Linked DNA regions of Homo sapiens: regions 2, 3, 4, 5, 6 and 7 are each linked to region 1. The links are contacts of gene promoters, found by promoter capture Hi-C in blood cells and fetal thymus (Javierre and others, 2016). All regions are on one chromosome and are shown on one strand. The core of a region is centred on a gene start or on the middle of the fragment in contact, and the rest is flanking DNA. Distances in the headings are between cores, read along the strand shown. Region 1 holds the start of GKN1 (gastrokine 1). Region 2 overlaps APLF (aprataxin and PNKP like factor). Region 3 overlaps APLF (aprataxin and PNKP like factor). Region 4 overlaps APLF (aprataxin and PNKP like factor). Region 5 overlaps APLF (aprataxin and PNKP like factor). Region 6 overlaps APLF (aprataxin and PNKP like factor). Region 7 overlaps GFPT1 (glutamine--fructose-6-phosphate transaminase 1).

Region 1 (3,217 bases), core at 354-2,853:
ATCTGAAAATGATTTCAGTTAATTTTCCTATTTAACATGGGATGTTTTCTTCCTAATAGAAATAATCTTTTTATTAAAAAAAACTTTCCAAAGCAATGGATTAGTAGGCAGTTTGGATGCCAATGATGAGAAAGCAAGTATAGAGTGTCTCGCTGGCAAGAGTGATCAGCAGAGGCGATGTCACTAGCAGTGTCCCAGGATACTTGGTTTAATTATTTATCACAGGGTCCCTGACATTGGTTTTCAGAGCACAGAGCTTTATGCAGGGTGCCTCATTCTGGGTACCTAGTCTCATTTCCTTTGCCTGGGACAAAATAGTTTTGAGAACTGCTCTAGAGATTCAAGGTAACTTTTGAAAAAAAATTAAATTTTTCTCCCAATAGCTTAAAAAGGAGTTAAAAATTAGTCTCCTAAAAAGTCAGAGGTAGAAGAAATTTTAGAGAACACCTAGTACAATGCAATCATTTTACAGATAAGGTAACTGAGCTTCAGGGGTTAAGTGAGTTGGCCAAACTTATACCTCTTGTTCACAGCAGAACTAGGAGAGAAATCAAATCTAACCTGTGTCTGGAGCTCCCTCTGACCCTTTTAAACTTTGCTGCTATTAAGAGGACCTAGTTCTAGGTAGTCATTTTACATTTGCAGCCCCATTATAAAGTAGAGTCTGCCGTAACGTTTTCCAGTGTGTAGTATGTTGAAACATGAAAATAGTCATCTGATTCTAGCCCCTTTGCATCGTGTTGTGAGAAACCCGGCACTACTAGTTACTTTGGCAGGGTTTCTCGGTCCACCTCCTCCTAGACTCTCAGGCTTCTGTCTGGAACCACAGGAGAGATGCTGTGGTAGCTTCATGTTTCAGATGCTTTCTTAAATAAATGGCCATGCTAGAGCCCAAGGCAAATCTTTCTTTCTTGGAGACCCATTTTACTGTAACAAATGTGACAAGAAGTCTATCTCAGCCACTTATTTTGATAATAAGCTTTTCATCTTTCCTGAACATGCTCAGGAATTTTGGTAAATAAAAGGAGGAATTCAAGAATGAGGGATGATCGGCACTTTCTAGGGCTTAGGAACTGCTTACCCTGCATGGAGACCGGAATCAGGTGATGCGGAAAGTCATTTTGTTAAAAATAGGTCAGTGTGAGGTGCTCAGACAGCTGTCTAATCTCAGCACAATTATCCTTCTCTATAGAGATGCTTATAAATGCCATGATTATATAAATAGAAAAAAGATTTTTTTTCATTATTTCTTCTTCTAAAAAAAAGGGATACATGTGCAGAACGTGCAGGTTTGTTACATAGGTATATGTGTGCCATGGTGGTTTGCTGCCCCTATTGACCTGTCCTCTAAGTTCCCTCCCCTCACTCTCCACCCCCCAACAGGACCTAGTGTGTGTTGTTCCCCTCTCTGTGTCCATGTGTTTGAAGAGAGAATTTTTTTAAAACAAATTTTCCATGATGGGGCCATAAGAAGCAGACCTCCTAAATCTCAGAATATTGACAGTCTCCAATCATTTGGTGGTAAATTCAAAAGGAAAAATCTACTCACTGTGAACTTCATCTTGTCTTCACGAAAGCAGTGGACAGAGGAGTAGGCAAGCATGGACCTGAATGAGAAGCCTTCTCATATTTGTACTTAACCAGGTTGACTCAAACTAGGTGTTATCAGGTGGGGTCAAAGACTTACCTTCCTCAATTTCTCCTATCTGTGCCATGAGCCAGTGTACCAGGAAACCTTTCAGAATATCTGCATGCTTAGCAAGGAACTTTCACATGGAGTTGACCTGACTCATCACTTGTTGAAGCTGAAGGTATCACAACAAACTCAATATGATTTATGATAACTTCTCACCCAGTCAAAGCTGTGGGCGTGAGTATTTTACACGCTAACATTGCTCAGATTCAGAAAAAGAATAATCCCTAAAATCAAACAAAATCACAGCTGAAAAGCCACGTGTATACTAGGCCTTCCAGATAGCAGCTCCTATAGGAATGTAGGAATGGTTTCCACTTCTTAACTTTTATCTGAGCCCATGGCAATGGTTTTGCTTAGACTAAACATGTTTTGTGAGCAACTCCCACCAAACCTACCCCTTTTCTGCAATGTTGAGCTCACTTAATGATAGCACCATATATCTGGTACAGCCCTTTCTTCTCAGTCTGACATCTACTTAGTTACTGTCATTTTATCTCTGAAATGCCTCTCAACTCTGACCTTGCCCACAGCTCCCCTCACCTGGACTTTCACAACAGTCATGCAATTGATCACTCTGGTCACCAGTTTCTTATATTCCAATGCATTTTCTTCATTAACCCTGAGGTTGTCTTTCTGAAGTGCATAGATAGACATGACTCTATCACGCTTGGAAATTTCGCTGGCAGCCTACAGAAAATTCAAAGTCATTGGAATGGCATCCAGGGTCCTATGTAATAAGATTTCCAAAGGCTTCCCGTCTGCCACTTTATGCTATGTACCTACATTCTAGCTCCACCAGCGTTCCCACCATTCCTGGAAAAGTCAAGATGTGTATGTCTCCATGCCTTTGTACATGCTGTTGTTTTATCTTGGAGGGCCACCCGCTAGCCTCTCGCTTGGTAGACTCCTGTTCATTGTTCAAGGCTCAGCTCAAATATCACTGCCTCCATCACATCTCCCCCATCTGATAGATAGAACTTTCCTAGTGTTTGTTTTTTCCTTCTGGGAACTATAAAAGCAATATCTTTTTATTTGCTTCTAGATAATTTAGTTTTCAGAAGTTACATTAAAATAATAAAAAATATTTTCATCAAAAGCAGAGAGTAGAAACTATCAATTGGGCAGACAAGTAAAAGCTCAAAACAGGTTTGGAGGTGAGTTGGTTTTAATTTTTTTCCTGCTTTTTCCTATACAGTGAAGCTAGTAAATTAAATTTGCCAAGGAGGAAAACTGTATTTCATTAACTACCAATCTATAAATTTTCCCTTTGGAAACTTCGTGCCCACAATTTTCCTCCTGTGCATGGATTGAAACCATAAGATGGGATCACATGGTTATAAAGCTTGATTCGCTATCAACATCTCTTCAAAACTGTTGGTAGGAGTGGATTAGAACAGCTGCAGTATTACTGGATATTTTTTAATGTGTCCACTGATTTCTTTCAAACTCACTCTTTATCCACAGAAGGTAATAAGCCTGGAGTAAGGGGCAGACATGTGTGAAGAGGCCTTCATCTGCTTT
Region 2 (3,217 bases), core at 338-2,837, 500 kb after region 1:
ATATTAAAAAACAATGTTTGTAAAAGTTAAACGGGATCATTGACATAATGTGATCATCCCACAAGCCTGGTCAACACCTACCCAATTATCCAACACACCATATCTTAGAGCCTTAAACCACGCAAGCCCTTCCTTACACCACCCACTCCACCTACCAAAATTCTAACTGTCCCAACACACCACAGTCAAACTCAACATGCTACCAAGTTCATGAAGCTTTCTTTCCCTGATCCCACCTCTTAACTTCAGGTTCCTTCTTATACCTCTCTGTACCCTGTGACATCATTCTGTCTAGCTTGAGGACTAAGCTCTGATTATTATTTTTTTTTATCTTGCCCAAATTCCTTTCTAAGGGGTCTGGGGAGTCATGCCCTACAAACCATAAATTCTCATCAGATGAGTTTTATTTAACCCTGTATAACGTGACTTACTTTCCAGTCTGACTCAGGCATAACAAGGAAGAAAATCAAAATGTTTTACCCTAAAATATATTTCTTTGCCATACCTTGGAACTGTCCTGCAAAGTCTCTTGTGGGAAAAACCCACATTCTATAGAGAATTCCCTTTCCCCTTTGTTTTCCTTCCTTCCTTTCCAGATCCAGGAGATAATCAATTAAGAGCCAGGCACTCTTTCAGGTCTCATAAGAAACATTTTACAACCTGCTATCTCTGAAGTCCGCTATCTGAGAGCTCTGCAAAATAAAACTTCGTCTCCACAATCCTTTATCTTAACCTGAACATTTCCTTTGATCTTAGGTCTTGAGATAAACTCAACTAATTGTCAACCAGAAAATGTTTAAATTTACCTATAGCCTGGAAGCCCCTGCTTTGGGTTGTCCTGCCTTTCTGAACCAAACCAATGTATTTCTTAAATGTATTTGATTGATGTCTCATGCCTCCCTAAAATATATAAAAACCAAGCTGTACCCTGACCATCTTGGGAACATGCTCTCAGGACCTCCTGAGGGCTGTGTCACGGGCCATGGTCACTCATATTTGGCTCAGAATAAATCTCTTGAAATATTTTATAGAATTTAACTCTTCATCAACAGACTCATGGTATTTAACCAAAACTTTTAATAAAAATGTGACCTTTTAAAAATCAGTGATTATATCTAAAAATTCAAATTTCTTACTATTCTTAAAAAAACAATATGACACTGTTACCAACTGGGAATAGGGGAAAGTAGCAGGGATTGCATAGAGACCCTCTCCTTGTGGCCTTCCCAACACTGAGGCAGAACTGTTGTCATTTATCACTGTCCCTGTGTTGTTTTTCTTCTTCCCTCCCACTTCGCTTACTCCAAGTGTCAGCCTGGCGCCAGTCCCCATGTGAGGTTGTAGCCTTATTTAGTTACTAATACTTGTTTATTTGTCTCTTAACCCTACAAAACTATAAGTTTCTTGAGAGCAAAGACTTGTTTCTCATTCACCTTTATTTCTCCTATACTCCCTCCCATCCAACCATAGTATATATTTATCAGCTATTTCCTGAATTTAGCGAATTATCAATCAACAAAACAGGAAAAATGTTAAAACTTAATTCATTATGAATGCTACTCAAGATTTAGCAGTTGGTAGGACTGCATCTTTACTATATTTAAATTCACTTCAAAACTCAATGATAACCCTTTTTCATATCTAAGTCACAATTAGGCTCTTTTTGAGGGTAGAGTGAATGAGAGGCTGAGATGCCGAAATGGAAGGAAGAAATCACGTGTTAAAGGCCTACTGTGTGCTAGGCACTGGTTGTAGGCTAAATAATAAAATGAGGGAAGGGCAAATCTAGAAATAAAAGAAACGTAAGGGAAGAAACCTATGTTGGAGCAGGTAGGAACAGCATTCCAGGACAGCCAGGATTCTGCAACAAGCAGTTAAAAGTATAGAGCTGCCAGGTCAGGGGATGGTTACTTTGTGTAAACTTTGTAGAACATTTACAACATTCTTAGAAGTGGTGAACTGATGCCACCTGAAGAGTCTATACTGAAGCCTATGACCTTCCCTGTTCCCCCAACTGAGGACTCTTCTCCTTTTAATCAAAGCAGTCAATTTAATTACATCTACATTGAGAAAGTATCACTAGATATCTTTTGCTATCTTGTTTCCTAGGAGGAAAATAGATCATAAAGAAATGTGTCATATAATCCCTGCTGTCAAAACAAAATAAGAAAAATCTGAAATCAGAAATAGTAGATTTCATTTAAGAGTGTAACAGCTTTAATTAAAACCCATAAAGCAAATACTTTGGCCTAACAGTGCTTGACATGTCGTACTGTAAAACCCTTTTAAATTAAATTTCTTAAGATAATGGTAGATTCACATGTAGTTGAAAGATATAATATAGAAATATCTCTTGTACCATTTATCCAGTTTCCCCTAATGGTAACGTCTTACAAAACTATAGTACAATATATCAACCTAAGATATTGATACTGACACAGTCCAGACAAAGCACATTTCTATCACCACAAATATCCCTCATGTTGCTATTTTATAGCCATATCCATTCCCTTCTGCCCTGCTGCCTAATTTTTTAACCTTTGGCAACCACTAATCTGTTCTCCATTTTTGAAATTTTGCAATTTCGCAATTTCAATGATGTTATATAAATGGAATCACACAATATGTAATCTTTTGGATTGGCTGTTTTAACTCAAGTTCTCTGAAGATTAATCCTGCTGTAAAACCTTCTAACTGATGCCAATCATGGAGCAGAATCAAAATCTAGTAAACAAAGACCTGGGGTTCTCTGATGACTCACATGAAAGCAAAGGGAACAAGAAAGATTAAATTTCATTGTCCTTTGTTCTCTGTGACAGGTTTCTCTGTTGTGTTTTCCTACCACCATAAAAATACAAAACCATTCTCATTGTCAAACTGTTTTACTACCAAGACTATTTTACACAGTCAGATTATAAACTTTTATGTTTGTGTGGCCATCAAGGTTTGTGAAGCTTGTCTCAGAAAAACATGCCCAATTAAGAAAGTTCAAAATCATCCTTATTTATATTAATCGTTTCCGATTCCAATTTACAATGAACTTACTGAGTTTTCCACTTAGAACTCAGTCTTCGCTCTCTCACAATACAAAAATAAATCTCACTGGAATTGCTGTTGTTGGAAACAGGAGCCCTTATGTTGTGTTTTAACCAGTGCAGAGAAGAATCGAGTGCATCTGTCAGCTCCAAAATCGAAAAAACTACAAGGCGATTTGTTT
Region 3 (3,217 bases), core at 539-3,038, 490 kb after region 1:
ATTTTAAACCAAATCATAATATATACATGAACTGGCAGTCATCTTTCATTGAAATTCTAATTAGGTAAATGTGGCATTGTCCTATGAGAAAATATGTAGTTTTCCTCACAGTTTAGATCTTTATCTCCTAATTATTTTCTGGCAATGAGAAGGGTATATTCTGACATTAATTCCCTATTCCCATAACCTTAGAAAATAGGCACCTCTGCTTGGGAACTGAAAGGGTAAGAGATGAAAGTTAAAATGAATCATTAATAACATATTTACCGGTTTGATTCGCAGCTGACCACCTGCCACCTCAAGAATGGCATGTCTTCTGGATACTCTCTTGTCTGTTATCTATACAGTAAAAAAATTAAAAGATTAAGAATAGCCACCTCCTTAAAAAGCAACAAAACAAAAAGGCAAACGAAACCCTTGGCGATGTTTCTGAAATCAGTAGACTAGATATGAAATATATCATTCATTCAACAACTGTATATTGAAATGATTGTCCTCATTTAACAAATAATGAGATTAAAAAAACCTGCCCAAAGTCATGGAAGAGTCAACAACAGAGCCTCAAGCCTAGAATCTAACGGATCCCAAAACCTTGCATGATAGTTTCCATTCATGACAGACATCTACTGGGGATTCTTACCAAGAAAATTCATAAAATACGAAAAGTCTGTATATAATATGTACTTACCAGAAAACATTTCAAATACAAGAAACATATAGTATGTCATGATGATAAAGGTTTTAAAAGGAAGAGATCCCATGCTCGAGGATCTGGTAAGTGTAAAAGGGTCTGACTATAGGCTTTGGGGTCAAAGAGACCCAGATCAGGCAGAACTGCATGCAAACTCTGGGGCCATCAGCAGCAGTTAAGAGTTCAGGAAGGCAAGAAGGGGAATAGTGAAAACCAAACATTTTCAGTAAGAAATAAATTAGCATTTTTTAAAAATATCTATTTGCTTCCTGTTTTGAGCCAACAGTGTTCTACTTAGGCTCACAATCATTTCCACATACCAAAGTTCAAAAATTGTTTGCATGTTAAATGCTGACAGTGCCAATCAAAGCTTTCCCTTTTCACTGTAAATACAATAGTTAAGATTGCCTTTTTTATTTGTGGTTGATTGATAGATAATGAAAACATGTTAAGCACCAACTTCAATAACACCATAACTACCTGACCCATCTCTTGGTAACCTTGATATTCAGCACTTGAATGTTGGCATTATCCGCATAAGGACCAAAATTATCAGTAAAAAATAGACCATACCAACACATAAACTCAATTAAACCTATTAGTTCCACAAAAAATGTGAAACTGCCAGGAGTCAGTACTCATTTTTTTAACCAGATAGCTGTTCCACACTTAAGGCTGTAACATATAGACAGTAATATCAAGCATCGGAATGAGTATCACATGAATGAATTTTTCACAATCTATTGTTAGCCACAATGGCTATCCAAGAAGTAAGTACAAACTAATAATCTATTGTTTCAGAAAAAAAGAGGCTAAAAATTTAAAGATTCCTTTCTTTTTCCCAGATTGTACCTTTTTTTTTATTATTATACTTTAAGTTTTAGGGTACATGTGCACAATGTGCAGGTTAGTTACATATGTATACATGTGCCATGCTGGTGTGCTGTACCCAATAACTCGTCATTTAGCATTAGGTATATCAGATTGTACCTTAGTAGGCTAAAAACAACAGCAGTTATCTGATGACTCATTGCATCATTTGCACAGAACTTTCACTTAAATGTTGTGATTCAACATAACATTGCCATAGCTATTATTAACACTTTACATAGAAATTGAAAGTCCAGAGAATTTAGGTAACTTGGGTAGGTCACTCTCCAAGTAGGCAGCACTCCAAATCCACACTCCTTTTAATAAAAATAGGTAATAGGCAGGGTGTGGTGGCTGCAATCCCAGCACTTTGGGAGGCTGAAGTGGGAAGACTCCTTGAGCCCAGGAATTCAAGACTAGCCTGGGCAACACAGTGAGACCCCCATCTCTACATAAAGTAAAAAATTAGCTGGACAGAGGGCATGTGCCTATAGTCCCAAATATTAATACTTGGGAGGCTGAGGTATGAAGATTGCTTGAACCCAGGAGGTCAAGGTTGCAATGAGCCATGATCGTGCCACTGCATGCCAGCCTGGGGGACACGGTGAGACCCTGCCTCAAAAAAAAAAAAAAAAAAAGATAATAAATGTAGAACACATTTATACATGACTGTACCTACATGTAATCATTCAAAAGTAATTTCAAAAAATGCGGCTGAGAGTAAGCAGTTCCTATTTCTGACTTGGGTACCAAAATCTCATTGTTACTTCCATACTACGAACCAATTTTCTAACCAACAGAGTAATAAGCTATCAAATATAAAACTATGGCATATAAAGCTGGTTCCTTTAACAGTCCATCTTAAATTTCTTTCTTTCCTTTTTTAAACTGTATTTTTTCAGGAAGCAATACATGAACTTTTCCTATCTCTGTCTTTCTTTGAAGTAAGCTTCACTGACACTACGAAGATAAAAGACATTTTAAGTAATATAAAAGTATAATGTGACCTCTAGTGGACACATAACTCCACAACAGTGTAATTTCATTACAAGCTATGTGTCTTTATAGAATACAAAAAGAATGCTATAAACAATCTTTGAAATTAACATCACTCAGACATTTATAGTGTTCCTTTTAAAGTAAAACCCTAAATAGTGAATACACAATAAAATAACCATTTGCACTTTCTCAATGGGAAGCATAAAGGTTTAATAAATTATCATTAAAACATTTTAATGTCACGATTGATATACGGAGAGGGGTGGGGAGCAAGTGACAAACAGATTATCCTAAAGATCTGATGATCTGCTTTATTTAACAGCCTATCACTGCTCCTTATACAGAGTGAATATCCAACACATTTTTATTATTTATTAATACATCAACTGTAATAACAATCAATTATCAACACCAAAGCACCATTCTAGACTTGTCATGTATCATCTTTTTCAGTCTTCACAAAATCTGTGAAGATACTATTATTATACTTCACTTCATAGGTGAGAAAATGGAAGTACAGAGAGTTTAAGCAACTACTCAGTTACACAACCAATAAGTAGTAGGGCCAGGATCTGAACCTAAGGAATCAGATTCCAGAACCATTCATGCTCTTAACGTTGTATTGCATCCCTCAATATCATTACATGAAACCTAAAG
Region 4 (3,217 bases), core at 469-2,968, 470 kb after region 1:
ACCACCCCGATAGAAACATTTTCTCATATTTGCTCCAGATTAATTACAAATACAATTCAAGCCCTCTCCATGCCCAGCCTCAATCTTGCTCCTTCCCTCCCATTCCTTCTCCAAAAGTAAACATTAGCCTGAATTTGATATTTATTATTCCTATGCATGTCTTTATACTTTCATTATTTGTATATATGCATCCATTATTTTATAGAAATTATGTATGTTTTATATGTTTATAACCTTTTTGGGTTTTTTCCCTCAACATTATGGTAGGGAGATTTATCCATGTTTTAACCTGAGCTCTCTCTTAGTTCATTCTCTTTCATATAGTTATAGGACTACACCAAATTTATTTAGCCTTTCTGCAGGTGTTTTCACAATTCAAATGAGTGCTATAGTAAACATTCTCATACAGCAGAGGGTAGTTAGTAAGAGCATCAACTCTGGAAACAGCTGGCTTGAGTTTGGATCCCACCTCTGCCATGTATTAAGCTGTGACCTTGGGCAAGTCTTAAACCTTCTGTGTCCCAATTTCTTCATCTGTCATATAGGGATATTAACAATACCTAGTCCTCATAGAGATTATTATGGAGAATAAAAAGTTCATACATGTAAAGCTTGTACAACAGTAAGCAGTGTTTTTATGTGGTTGACCCTGCAAAACAGAGCTAGTTCAAAAACAGGAAAACCCCAACGATATCAAGAAACGTCTAGAAGTGTATTTCAATGCTTCCTATCTAATACATAGTCCACTTCCCCTTGCTAGCAGACAGTGGACTCTCCCTCTCTGGAAATCAGGCAGCTGCCTCCCCCGGGTAGACATCTCTCATGATGATACTGCAATTCAAGATCTGCCCCCACCTCCCCTCATGGCTTCTAATCTAATAACTAGGGTTAACTCATCATTACCTGACTACAGAAGTACTGTCCTTGCTTCAATAGGAAACTAAATATTCACTAAGAAGCTACAGGACCTAGCTAATGGCAGAAACCACAAGAATGTGCCTGTGATGGTATGATATAGTAAGAAATACATATTTTGGTCTTCACTTCTGGTTCCTGGCTAGAGCTCTGAAACAGGTGAAAGGAGCGTCTTTTGTTATTCACAATATACCCCTTTCAACCACACCTGAATGTATGTTAATGAGGTGACTTTTGGAAAGCCTCTAAAGATGAAGGGCTGGTTGTTAGGAAAACCAATCATGATTAGAGGGTAGGAACTCCCAGCCTCACCACCAGGGAGGGAAAAGGGGCTGGAGATTGACTTAATCATACTGGTCAATGATTTACTCAATCATGCCTTTGTAATGAAGCCTCCATAAAAACCCAAAAAGACAAAGTTCAGAGGACTTCCAGGTTGGTGAACAAGAACATGTCCATGTGCTGGGAGAGTGGTGTACCCCAACACTCCACTGGAACAGAAGCTCCTGTGCTGGGGATCCTTCCAGACCTCACCCTATGTATCTTCTCATCTGGCTGTTAATTTGTATCCTGTAATATAGCACTTGTAATAAATCCGTAATCTAGTAAGTAAACTGTTCCTGAGTTCTGTGAGCCCTTCTAGCAAATGACAGAACCCAAGGTTTAAATAGCCTGAGAAAAGTACAGTGCTGTGAAAGTGGGTTTATTTTCAGTTTCATCAATACGAAAAAATTCAAAATTCACTAATCCCATAACCTGATAAATTTAAAGTGTGACACTTGCCCTAAAGACACTGGTCTTTCACACTAAGGGAATAAGCTAATTTGAATCAATATAAATGAAATTTAAATAGACATATAATAGCTTAAATAAGTTATCAGGTAATGACCATATTGTGTTTCATAAGGATGCACATTTTCCTAATTTTTGAAAAAAGTATGTAATTCTATTATGAAAGTTTATTGTAACAAAAAAATCAGTTCTTTACATGTCTCATTTCAACAGCTAGTTTAAATAGCACGCTTCATACATGTATGATAAGAGAAAAAGACATGTACTTTAAAGTAGTAAGCAATGATTAATGAATTTCATTTAACTAAAAAGCAACTTCCTGACATTTTTTTCCACTTACATTTAAGCATTTTTAGATATAATTTATATATGAAATGCACATATCTGAAGTGTGAAATTTGATTAGTTTTGACAAATGCGTACACCCACATAATCTGCACCCTTAACAAGACACAGAATATGTCCATATTTGTTTAAAAGCTGAAACAAAGCCAAACAAAAAGCTCCTTTGTAGCTTCTTACTAGTCAATCCCCTTGGAAACAACCATTGATTACATTTCTATTTAACAGATTAGTTTACTTATTACAGAACTTAATATAAATGTAATCATATAATAGACACTTTTGTGGCTTGCTTTTCTTTTTGGTAGATTACTAAGGATTTTCTAAATACAAATCATGTCATCTGCAAATAAACACAGTTTTACTTCTTCCTTTCAAATCTGATATATTTTATCTTTGTTGTATTCCCAATCTTAGGGGAAGAACTTTCAACATTTCACTAATAGGTTTTTTGTAGGAAAAAAGTTTCCTTCTTTTTCTTGTTTTCTCAAAACTTTTAAAAATCATGAAGAGGTGTTGAATTTTGTCAAAATTATTTTTGAGCATCTATTAAAATGATAGTTCTTTAGTCTGTTATGGTGAATTGCTTCGATTTTTATACGATAAACTAACCTTGTATCCCTTGGACAAGCCCCACTTGGTAATAGAGTATTATCCTTTTTACATATTGCTGGATTTGATTTGTAAATACTTTATTATGAGGAATATTGGTCTGTAGTTTTGAGGGTTTTTTGTAAAATCTTGTCTGATTTTAGTTTCTAAATTACAGAAGCTTCATAAAATGAGTTGGGAAGTATATCTTCTTTTATTTTTTGAGAAAAAAGAATAATATTGGCATTATTTCTTCCTTGTAAGTTTAATAGAATTCATTAGTGAAGATCCTTATGGGAAATACTTAAATTATGAATTCAATTTTTAAAATGAATATAGAATTCATCAGATTTCTATTTTTCCTGCATCAGTTTTGTTTTTTAAGAAATGTACCCATTCATTTTAACTGCCAAATTTATTGGCATAAAGTTTTACGTAATATTTCCTCATTATTCTTCTAAGGTCTGTAGTAGCAGTAATGATATCCCCTCTTCTACTGTTGATACTGATAATTTGTGTTTTCTCACTTTTTTCTCAGTAAGCCTTACTACAGTTTCACCAATTTTATTAATCTTTT
Region 5 (3,217 bases), core at 346-2,845, 440 kb after region 1:
GTTTCTGTAGATATTCTTGATTAAACTGAAGAAGTCTTTTCTATTCTTATATAATTAAGAATTTTTTTCATAAATGGGATGTTGAATTTTATCATATGACTTTTCTCTATTGAGATGACCATTATGAATTTTCTCTTTTAAATTGTGTTATGAAGTGCATTGTTCCCCACCTCCCAAAATTCATATGTTGAAGCCCTAATTTCCAGTGTGACTAATTTGGAGATAGGGGCTTTAAAAAGATGATTAAGGTTAAACGAGGTCATAAGGGTGGGGCCCAACCTAATATAACTGGTGTCCTTACAAGATGTGGAAAAGAGACCAGGAAGGTACATGTACAGAGAACAGGCTATGTGAAGACACAGTGAGAAAGTGGCAGTCTGCAAGCCAAGAAAAGAGGTCTCAGGAGAAAACAAACTTGCTGACACCATGATCTAGGGCTTCCAGCCTCCAGAACTATGGGAAAATACATTTCTGTTTTTTAAGCACCCAATCTGGTATTTTGTTATGGCAGCCCTGGCAAACTAATACAATCCAAGGTAACAGAAGGTATATATACTTCCATTCTGCAAGTTTTTACATTATGGTCCAGATGTGGAACTAAAGCCATTGCATATATACAAAAATGTTTCAAAAAGCATAAATCAGAACTATTCAAATTTTAAAATATGAGTTATTCAAGTGCTAAAATGGCAATACCTTTTAAAGAGAATATGAATGTGAAATTAACAGAATATATTAAAATATACTATTGCAATAAAGATATCTATCTTCTAGAAAATCCTGCTATAGGCTTTTAAGATACAGTGGGGGGAACTGAATGTTTTATATGTATACATGCTGACTAGTGTCTTATTGACACAGAAGACAAACTACTGGAAAGGATTGCTAGGATATTTGGTTTGGCAAGTTGGAATGGCAAGAAATCTTTCTGAAATAGGGTTATGTAATTATAAACATGTTACTATAAACACTATGGATGAAAGTATAGCCTAAAACTAAGAGATTATAATTTGAATTCTCAAAATAAGAAATTAGAGTATATAGGGCAGTGTAAATAAATGAAGCAAGTATAGGAGCAACCCATCAATCCAGGATTATTATATTCAGTTGTTTTACAGGGTACCATGATGATTCAAAGCACCATTACAAAAATATAAAGAAAAGACACCTAAATACAACTTAAAATTATAGTTATATTGTAGACAACAACTCTGTAGGAAGCCATCTCTCTAATATTTAAGAAAAGACTAAATAACAGGTATTTAGATCTGGGGGATTCAGTCTTCATGTCTGGATTCCCCAGTATTCAGATCCTCACATTAGTCAGCATGTCTATATATAAAACATTTAATTCTCCCACTGTATCTTAAAAGCCTTAAAAGGATTTTCTAGAAAATATACTGAGGAAGTACAAATAGTAGAAACACGATAAAGCCCCTAACCTTTAGGCCAGTGGGTTTTATTAAGTTTTTAATATACTGTAGCATGTATCTACATAGCTACACGCTATCAAAATAATGGAATTAAATGTTACTGTAATTTCATTTTACCTATAGCAGTTTGCCCCATACATGCAGGATGTCCTCTTGACCTTGTTTCCTTCAGAACCTTGTAGAACTGAATCAGTTGCCTTTGCATGCAAAGTTTCAGGATTGGAGGGATTAGAGCTGGACTCAGAATGAGACCCTTGAGACTCATCCTGAAGTGAGTCGCCCTGGGCACTCGAACAATTTTCAGAACAGCTCATTGCCTCATCTTCTTTATGTGGTGTTCTTTTAGTGGCAATTTTATGTTTAGAAACTTTACCAAGTTCCTCTATTGGAAGTTTGTTTCTCTGTGCATTAGTCTTAATATTATTCATCTCTGTGTTACTTAATGTGATTGCAGAAAATGATTGTGGCATTTCCTGTAAAACAAATATGAAAAACATCAGAAATAAATGAAACATTTTTAAAAAGATATGAGCATAACAGCACAAAACTACAAGATCCATGCAAAATGTAAACTTAAAACTTCAAGATTCACATTTTAAAGTTCTTAAATGCCACTATTTTCTATGCGCTTAGTTTAATAACTTAAAACATTTTTAGTTTTTTGAAAAGAAATTTGGCCAGGCACGGTGGCTCAGGCCTGTAATCCCAACACTTTGGAAGGCTGAGGCGGGTGGATCACCTGAGGTCAGGAGTTTGAGACCAGCCTGGCCAACAAGGTGAAACCCCGTCTTTACTAAAAAATACAAAAAATTAGTTGAGCATGGTGGTGGGTGCCTGTAATCCCAGCTATTTGGGAGGCTGAGGCAGGAGAATCGCTTGAACCTGAGAGGCAGAGGTTGCAGTGAACTGAGATTGCACCATTGCACTCCAGCCTGGGCAACAAGAACAAGACTCCATCTCAAAGAAAAAAAAAAAAGGAAAGAAAAGAAATTTACAGTTGTATCAAACCTTTACAATCATGTCAAACATTCAGTGAAAAATAACCAGAAAATACAAATAAAATATAAGAGAAGACATTTGCTTTCATTTGAATCTTTAACTTCTCTTAAATGTCACTGTTCAACAATGAGTCATGTTCTTAACATGCACGGTCCTTATAATTTCTCTTTTTTTTTTTTTTGAGATGGAGTCTTGCTCTGTCTCCCAACCTGGAGTGTGGTGGCACGATATCTGCTCACTGCAACCTCCGCCTCCCAGGTTCAAGTGATTCTCCCACCTCAGGCTCCCGAGTAGCTGGGATTACAGGCACATGCTACCATGCCCAGCTAATTTTTGTATTTTTAGTAGAGACGGGGTTTCACTGTTGGCCAAGCTGGTCTCGAACTCCTGACCTCAGGTGATCTGCCTGCCCTGGCTTCTCAAAGTGTTGGGATTACAGGCATGAGACACCATGCCTAGCCCCTTATAATTTCTTCTAAGCTACTGCAATACTTTATTTCTGCCCTCTAAATGTAATCATGATTTTACCATAGCTGAATGACAAAACTGTTTTGCCCTCACGGAAAATTTTGCATAAAGCTATGTTCTGACCAACTTGGAAAAAGATAGGATTCCTTTAAATTTGTCTTAATAAAGTTTTGAGTTTAACCAAACTGAAGGTGCTTTGAACCAAATAAATACTCTCATTAGCACTGCAGAACCTTTATAATTTGTACTTACCAACAGCACAAACAATAAGCCTGGTCTTATTCTGTTAAAAATGACCCCTTAATTACTTATACTTC
Region 6 (3,217 bases), core at 484-2,983, 390 kb after region 1:
TAGTAAAGCTGTTGCAGGGAGTGAATTAAGGAAAGTTTTTTTGTCTCTCTTTAAGATGGAAGAAATATTATTAAGTTTACATGGTGATGGGAATGAATCAGTACATAGGAAAAAACTGATGAGATGGGAGAGGGGGAGGAATTACCAGTGTAATGTCCTTAAGCACGTAAGAGATGCCTGGATCTAGGGAAATGATTTTAAATAAAATAATAAACAATTTATCTATAATACCGGGGGAGAAGATAAAGAATTTGAGAATAGCTGGTAGGTGGGTAGATGCAGGTGAGAGTTTGTAAAAGTTCTCATTGAATAGCTTCAATTATCTCAGTGAAGTAGGAAGCTAAATCTAATCTCAGTTCTTAGGTGTGTAACCATTCTATAGCAACTGACAATATTAACTACTTCTTCCTTCTTAATATTCATTCTACTTTCAGCTCCCGTGACACAGAAAGTTCCTAACATTCCTCTTCTTCTAATTCCTCTGAAGAATCTTTTTATCTATCTTCCTATCCCTTAAATTATGACACTAAATATCTTGTCCTCAACTCTCTTTTACCACTTACTCCTTTGGTGACTGTGGTAGACATTACTAGTGTTCACTCTGTTTCTCATCTTTTCTGGACACCCATAAGACTGTACTTCCCAAGCCCCTTCTAGTGGTTAAAGCCATGTAATTACTTCTGGCCAATGAGCTGCAAACAGGAGTGATGTCACTTCAGCCTGAAGCCTTTAATTACACTATAACCCTCTACTTTCTGTATTCCCTTGCAGTCATGATTAAGAAGGTCTCACGATCCAGATGATACAACTGCAAGAAGGCAGAGACTGTAAAATGCTGGAATGCTGAGTTGCTACATGGAAGACAGTGCCCTAGAGGGTCACCCAACACAGAAAATCTTGGCATAAGAAAATGTTCCTTGTGTTAAGACACTGAGATTTTGGGGTTATCCTAGCATAACTAGTCTAACTGAATGGCACAGTGACCTACTGGAGTGGTTCTCAAAATTTTCAGCCTCAGGAGTCTTTTCACTCTTAAAAATTACTGAGAAACCCAAAAAGCTTTTGTTTATGAGGGTCGTATTTGTAGACAGTTACCATACTGGAGATTATAATTGAGAAATTTTTAAAATATTTAGTAATTCACTTAAAAAGAAGAGTAAACCCATTACACACTGATACATGTATTTTATAAAAAATAATTATATATTTTAAAGAATTTAGTCAGATGAATGGCATTGTTTTACATTTTTGCAAATCTCTTTAATGTCTGTCTTCTCTAGAAGACAGGTAGATTCCTGTATCTGCTCTCCTATGTTGTTTTGCTTAAAGTACATGGAGCAAACCAGGCCTTACACAGATATGTAGTTGAAAAGGAAGGAGTATTTTAATAGGCTTTTCAGGTAATGGTGGATATTCTTCTTGATGTCACAAAAATAGACAAATTGCAGTTTCTGGAAGATTAGTTGAAATATGGAATCTGAAACCATATTAATGAACTTAACAGACTCTGTTACATTAAGTCCATTGCTTCATCTTACACTTTGACTGGATCTCTTACCCATGCCTGGTTTTATAACATCATACACTGGTTATGTGGAAAATGTTGGCTTACTAAGTTTTGCAGCTCTTCCAAATATTGATACATTTTATTATATCATATCACCTACAATATCATCAGAATAGTTTTTAGAGTTTTGAAAAGCTATCAAGCTAATGGTGATGAATCCAAGTTCTTCCAAAATTCTGATTTTTGCTTAAAAGCTCAAATTTCAGCATTACAGCAAATACTGTTGGTTGTTTTCCTTGAAAACAGGGCTCATTTAGTTCATGTTTGATAAAACATCTGCCAAATACTGAAGTTTGAATAATCATAATATGTCTGCCAGTCATTCTTTCAAGTAAAAATTTTGTTCCATAAAAAAATCTGTTAGTTCATCCTGCAACTCAATCACACCAAGATTTTCTCATGACTGAGACTGTATATACTTCAGTATACAGCCAGAGGGGTATTTCTGTTACACTCTAGCTTCTCCTTCTCTGACTGGTCCCATTCTATCCACTATGTTATTTGAATGCTTGCCTCATTGCCTTTGTAAAATCTTTTACTGTAGATACCATTTCTTTTTCTTTTTTGTATCTTTCATGGTATTTAGTAGTCACTGTCACTGAATGAATAAATATCCTATTGTCCAGAATAGAGAGTAAGCACATTGAAAATAGGGACTCTATGTTATTCTTTGAATTGCTGACACCTAAGACAGTATCTTGGGCACAACAGAGTATAAATGTGGTTGTTTATGATGATAAAGTTTATTATGTACATTATATTAGGGTGGCCAATAATAATCTCAATCATAATTATTCCTTATCACTTTACTTTCAGTACATATTGTAGAGGTGAAGCTTTGTAGGCTAGGTTTGTAGATTGGCAGGAAAAGATCCCCCTCCCCCACATGCACACACCATTATGGACTCCTGGCCAACAAAGAGACTGAATGGGAATGAGGTGGTCTCACAGAGCAGGGCTGGATGCAGCGTGCTGGTGGACAGTTTCCCCCTCAGTGAGGTGTGCTGGTGACACTGAACAATTAGTTGTAAGAAACTACCCATTTACTCTCAGCTTTACATCAACATTCTGGAGTAATTATGCTCACAATCTATCTGCTTTCATTACAATGAATGTTTAGGATCCTCTAGTTCTAGAAACTCAGTATCAATAGGGCCATCCTCAACCAGGGGAAAACACCAAAGTCAGTGTTCAAGTGTCCCCCAAAACTCTTCAGGTCTCCAGTTTCCCAGGGTCCTAGAAAACCCATCCCCCCTCAAAAGTTTAGCCAGAAAATATTTGCTTTTAAAATTAGGCACATAGGTGAGAAATGTATATATGATAATTTTTACCATGACAGAGGAGGCTGGGATATAGTTTCAGTTCCAGGAACACCATGACAGGGAGAATTGGCTCTTATCCACTGTATAGAACAGCAATTAATTTAAAAAATCAAGCTTTGTTAATGGTGCTCTTGAGACCACTGACAGCCTAATGTTACCGGTTTTCCCTCTGTTTTGGAAAACACAGATCTAAACACAGTCCAATTACACTTTCATTTTCATTACACTTCAGTCAATTAAGCTATACATTTATTTATACAATAGTTATACTCAAAAGTGTCTTCAGGATGATTATGAAAGTTGCATTAAAACTGTATCGTTAAAAGCA
Region 7 (3,217 bases), core at 1-2,500, 380 kb before region 1:
AGCTAGGACTCAGATTGGATCAAAATTCACACGGTGGGGATCACAGGGAGAAAGAGGTGGGAAATGCACTCTGCATGGATGGGGAGGATCTTATCCTCTTTTGTTTATTCTTTACTAATTCTTTTGTTCTTGGAGTGAATGAATGTGCTGGGCCTCTAAAAATGTGCTTATTTTGTGGGGAAGCATATTTTGACATTTTTCTAATTTGCGGAGTATATTTTGCGTGTCTGCTTTTGGCATTTAGAAAGTGCTTTTAATAATTTCATTAAAATTTCTGAAATTTGAGAAAATAGTTGAAATTGTAAATTATTTTTTCCTTTGTTTTAAAATCATGTAGGATGTATGCTTAGATTAGGAAAAGAGCATTGTGTGCTAGGTTATTATAGATTGACTAAGTGGTAGTTATTTGAATCATTTAGGCTAACTTTTAACTGAAATATGTTTAAGTGGTCTTTATTTTTTATACATGACATATTGTTGGATTTACATTTGCTATCTTGATTGGCTTTATTTGAATTTGTAGTGATTGTTCTTTTATATTGTTTATGTGTAAAGTTTATTTTTTGTTTTTCTTATTTATTTACTTCGATGTAACTTTTTTATAGAGCGGCAGGGGGAGACAGGGTCTTGCTCTGTTGCCCAGGCTGGAGTGCAGTGCAGTGGTATGGTCATACCTCACTGCAATTTCGAACTCTTGGGCTCAGGTGGATCCTCTTGCCTCAGCCTCTCAAATAGCTAGTACTACAAGCGTGTGCCATCATACCCAGCTAATTCTTATTTTTAGCCAGGGTTTTGCTCTCTCAGCCAGGCTGGAGTGCAGTGGTTTCGTCATGGCTCACTTCAGCCTTGGCTGCCTAGGCTCAAGTGATTCTCCCACCTCAGCCTCTTGAGTAGCTGGGACCACAGGCATGTGCCACCACCCCCAGCCAATTTTTTTATTTGTAAAAAGGAAGTCTTGCTATGTTGGCCAGGCTGGTCTCAAACTCTTGGGCTTAAGGGATCCTCCCACCTCAACCTCCTAAATTACAGGGATTACAGGAATGAGCCACTGTGCCTGGCTCCCAGCTAACTTTAAATTTTTTGTACAAATGGAGTCTTGCTATATTGCCCAGGCTGTTCTTGAACTCCTGGAGTCAAGTGATCCACCTGCCTCAGCCTCCCAAAGTGCTGAGATCACAGGTGTGAGCCACTGTGCCCAGCCCAGAAGTGTTCTTTTCATTTAAACAGACATTGATATCTCAAATTTTTTTTACCTTATTTATTTATTTTTTGAAACAGTCTTGTTCTGTTGCCCAGGCTGGAGTGCAGTGACATGATCTTGGCTCACTGCAACCTCTGCCTCCCGGGTTCAAGCGAGTCTCATGCCTCAGCCTCCAGAGTAGCTGGGACTACCAGTGCACACCACCACACCCGGCTAACTTTTGTATTTTTAGTAGAGACGGGGTTTCGCCATTTTGGCCGGGCTAATCTCGAACTCCTGACCTCAGGTGATCCGCCCACCTCGGCCTCCCAAAGTGCTGGGATTACAGGTGTGAGCCGCTGCACCCAGCCTCAAATTTTTTTTACATATTTTAACTAAATATACTTTGTTATTTGAAGAATGAAATTATCAATATTTGGAGAAAAAACACAGTGAAACTCAAGCCTATTAGGACATTTTATAAGCAAAAGTAGTTGTTTTTTTTTTTTTTTTTTTTTTTTTGAGACGAAGTCTCGCTCTGTTGCTCAGGCTGTAGTGCAGTGGCGTGATCTCGGCTCACTGCAACCTCGGCCTCCCGGGTTCAAGCGAGTGTCTTGCCTCAGCCTCCTGAGTAGCTGGGATTACAGGCACGTGCCACCACACCCAGCAAATTTTTCTATTTTTAGTAGAGACGGGGTTTCAGGCTGTTGCTCAGGCTGGTCTCAAACTCCTGACCTCATGATCCGCCCACCTCGGCCTCCCAAAGTGCTGGGATTACAGGCCTGAGCCACCACACCTGGTTGCATTTATTTTTTTAAAATGCTGAGCTCTCTTTTTATGTGTTTTTAAATTCACTTTTTTGTTTTGTTTTTGAGACAAAGTCATGCTCTGTCACCCAGGCTGGAGTGCAATGGCACAATCTCACCTCACTGCAACCTCCACCTCCCAGGTTCAAGCGATTCTCCCACCTCAGCCTCCGGAATAGCTGAGACTACAGGTGTACTCTACCACTCTCAGCTAATTTTTTGTGTTTTTAGTAGAGACGAGGTTTCACCATGTTGGCCAGGCTGGTCTTGAACTCCTGACCTCAAGTGATCTGCCCACCTCGGCCTCCCAAAGTGCTGGGATTAAAAGCATGAGCCACTGTGCCTGGTCTCTGTTTTTTAACATACAGTAATATTTACTCTTTTTCATGTAGTTTCACCAATTTTGTCAGATGCGAAATTGCATAAGTACCACCATAATCAAGATACAGAACAATTTCATCACTCAATAAGGTCCCTCAACCTGCCCTCTGTCATCAACCCTTGTCTCATTCCCAGCCCCTGGCAAACACTAATATGTTATTTTTCTATAATGTTACTTTTTCTTGGATGTCATCTTACATTTATTTTTCAGTTTGGCATCTTTGCTGTTAAATATGAATGGGAAAAGTTACTTTGTTTTCATCACTAAAACATCAAATAATCACAGATGGTGGAAAACTTCGAATATACTTTTTTTGGCTTTTATTTTTAATAGATATATAATTATATGTTTATGTGGTGTATATTTCAATACATGTGTACAATGTATAATGATCAGCTCAGGATAAATAGCACATTTGAATGCACATTTCTGATAATTATCAAGTCTGCCTTTATATGTGCATTTTAAGAGGATAGATGAAATAGCAGTTTTTATAAGTATACTTGTGATGTTCTCTGGCTATTGTGTCCATAGTTCTAAGTTCTGTTATGTCCTGGCCTTGAAGAAAGGTGCATTTTTGTCTCTAGGACATTTATGTAGTCTTCAACTAATAGATTTTTTTCCTATATAAGGCCAATTTATAAAACCTTAGCATTCCAGTTTTGATGAAAAAGTTAATATTAATGTCTTGACAAATTAAGTAGAGGTGTCATAATTCTGAAATACAAGAATTAAAAGGATATTAGCTTTGCAAAAAGACCCTACTTTATCCTGACTTAAAGGAAGAGTAAGAAAACCCAAGTTGAAGAAAGGAGAGTTTCTTGGTTTATAAATTTTGTCTCTAACAGT

The links. Contacts are between HindIII fragments. The CHiCAGO score rates a contact against its expected background, and 5 or more counts as called.
Region 2: a contact is called between a fragment that was not itself captured here and the fragment with the promoter of GKN1 in region 1, in 1 of 17 cell types (activated CD4 T cells). The highest score is 5.5, in activated CD4 T cells.
Region 3: a contact is called between a fragment that was not itself captured here and the fragment with the promoter of GKN1 in region 1, in 12 of 17 cell types (non-activated CD4 T cells, activated CD4 T cells, total CD4 T cells and 9 more). The highest score is 9.6, in non-activated CD4 T cells.
Region 4: a contact is called between a fragment that was not itself captured here and the fragment with the promoter of GKN1 in region 1, in 5 of 17 cell types (total CD4 T cells, naive CD4 T cells, M2 macrophages and 2 more). The highest score is 6.3, in total CD4 T cells.
Region 5: a contact is called between a fragment that was not itself captured here and the fragment with the promoter of GKN1 in region 1, in 4 of 17 cell types (naive B cells, non-activated CD4 T cells, total CD4 T cells and 1 more). The highest score is 6.0, in naive B cells.
Region 6: a contact is called between a fragment that was not itself captured here and the fragment with the promoter of GKN1 in region 1, in 4 of 17 cell types (activated CD4 T cells, naive CD8 T cells, total CD4 T cells and 1 more). The highest score is 8.1, in activated CD4 T cells.
Region 7: a fragment that was not itself captured here is called in contact with the fragment with the promoter of GKN1 in region 1 in 1 of 17 cell types (M1 macrophages); the score reaches 6.4 in M1 macrophages.

Annotation. Positions count from the first base shown.
Region 1 is chr2:68,973,022-68,976,238 of GRCh38, reverse strand. It overlaps GKN1 (gastrokine 1), which reads right to left and starts at 1,603. Exons shown (of 6, transcript NM_019617.4): 1 at 1,550-1,603. The coding sequence starts at 1,561. The HindIII fragment of the contact is 2,059 bases long and covers 982-3,040 here.
Region 2 is chr2:68,469,624-68,472,840 of GRCh38, reverse strand. All of the region lies in intron 1 of APLF (aprataxin and PNKP like factor), which reads right to left. Among named protein-coding and RNA genes, the nearest start is that of APLF, 3.6 kb to the right of the region's middle. The HindIII fragment of the contact is 2,738 bases long and covers 219-2,956 here.
Region 3 is chr2:68,487,312-68,490,528 of GRCh38, reverse strand. APLF (aprataxin and PNKP like factor) reads right to left here. Exons shown (of 10, transcript NM_173545.3): 2 at 268-339. Among named protein-coding and RNA genes, the nearest start is that of APLF, 21 kb to the right of the region's middle. The HindIII fragment of the contact is 1,449 bases long and covers 1,064-2,512 here.
Region 4 is chr2:68,503,914-68,507,130 of GRCh38, reverse strand. The region is part of intron 3 of APLF (aprataxin and PNKP like factor); the gene reads right to left. Among named protein-coding and RNA genes, the nearest start is that of APLF, 38 kb to the right of the region's middle. The HindIII fragment of the contact is 2,210 bases long and covers 614-2,823 here.
Region 5 is chr2:68,536,561-68,539,777 of GRCh38, reverse strand. It overlaps APLF (aprataxin and PNKP like factor), which reads right to left. Exons shown (of 10, transcript NM_173545.3): 7 at 1,551-1,906. Among named protein-coding and RNA genes, the nearest start is that of APLF, 71 kb to the right of the region's middle. The HindIII fragment of the contact is 8,077 bases long and covers 1-3,217 here.
Region 6 is chr2:68,580,067-68,583,283 of GRCh38, reverse strand. It overlaps APLF (aprataxin and PNKP like factor), which reads right to left. Exons shown (of 10, transcript NM_173545.3): 10 at 3,122-3,217. Among named protein-coding and RNA genes, the nearest start is that of PROKR1, 62 kb to the left of the region's middle. The HindIII fragment of the contact is 1,344 bases long and covers 1,062-2,405 here.
Region 7 is chr2:69,351,098-69,354,314 of GRCh38, reverse strand. GFPT1 (glutamine--fructose-6-phosphate transaminase 1) reads left to right here. Exons shown (of 20, transcript NM_001244710.2): 9 at 3-56. Among named protein-coding and RNA genes, the nearest start is that of GFPT1, 35 kb to the left of the region's middle. The HindIII fragment of the contact is 7,303 bases long and covers 1-3,217 here.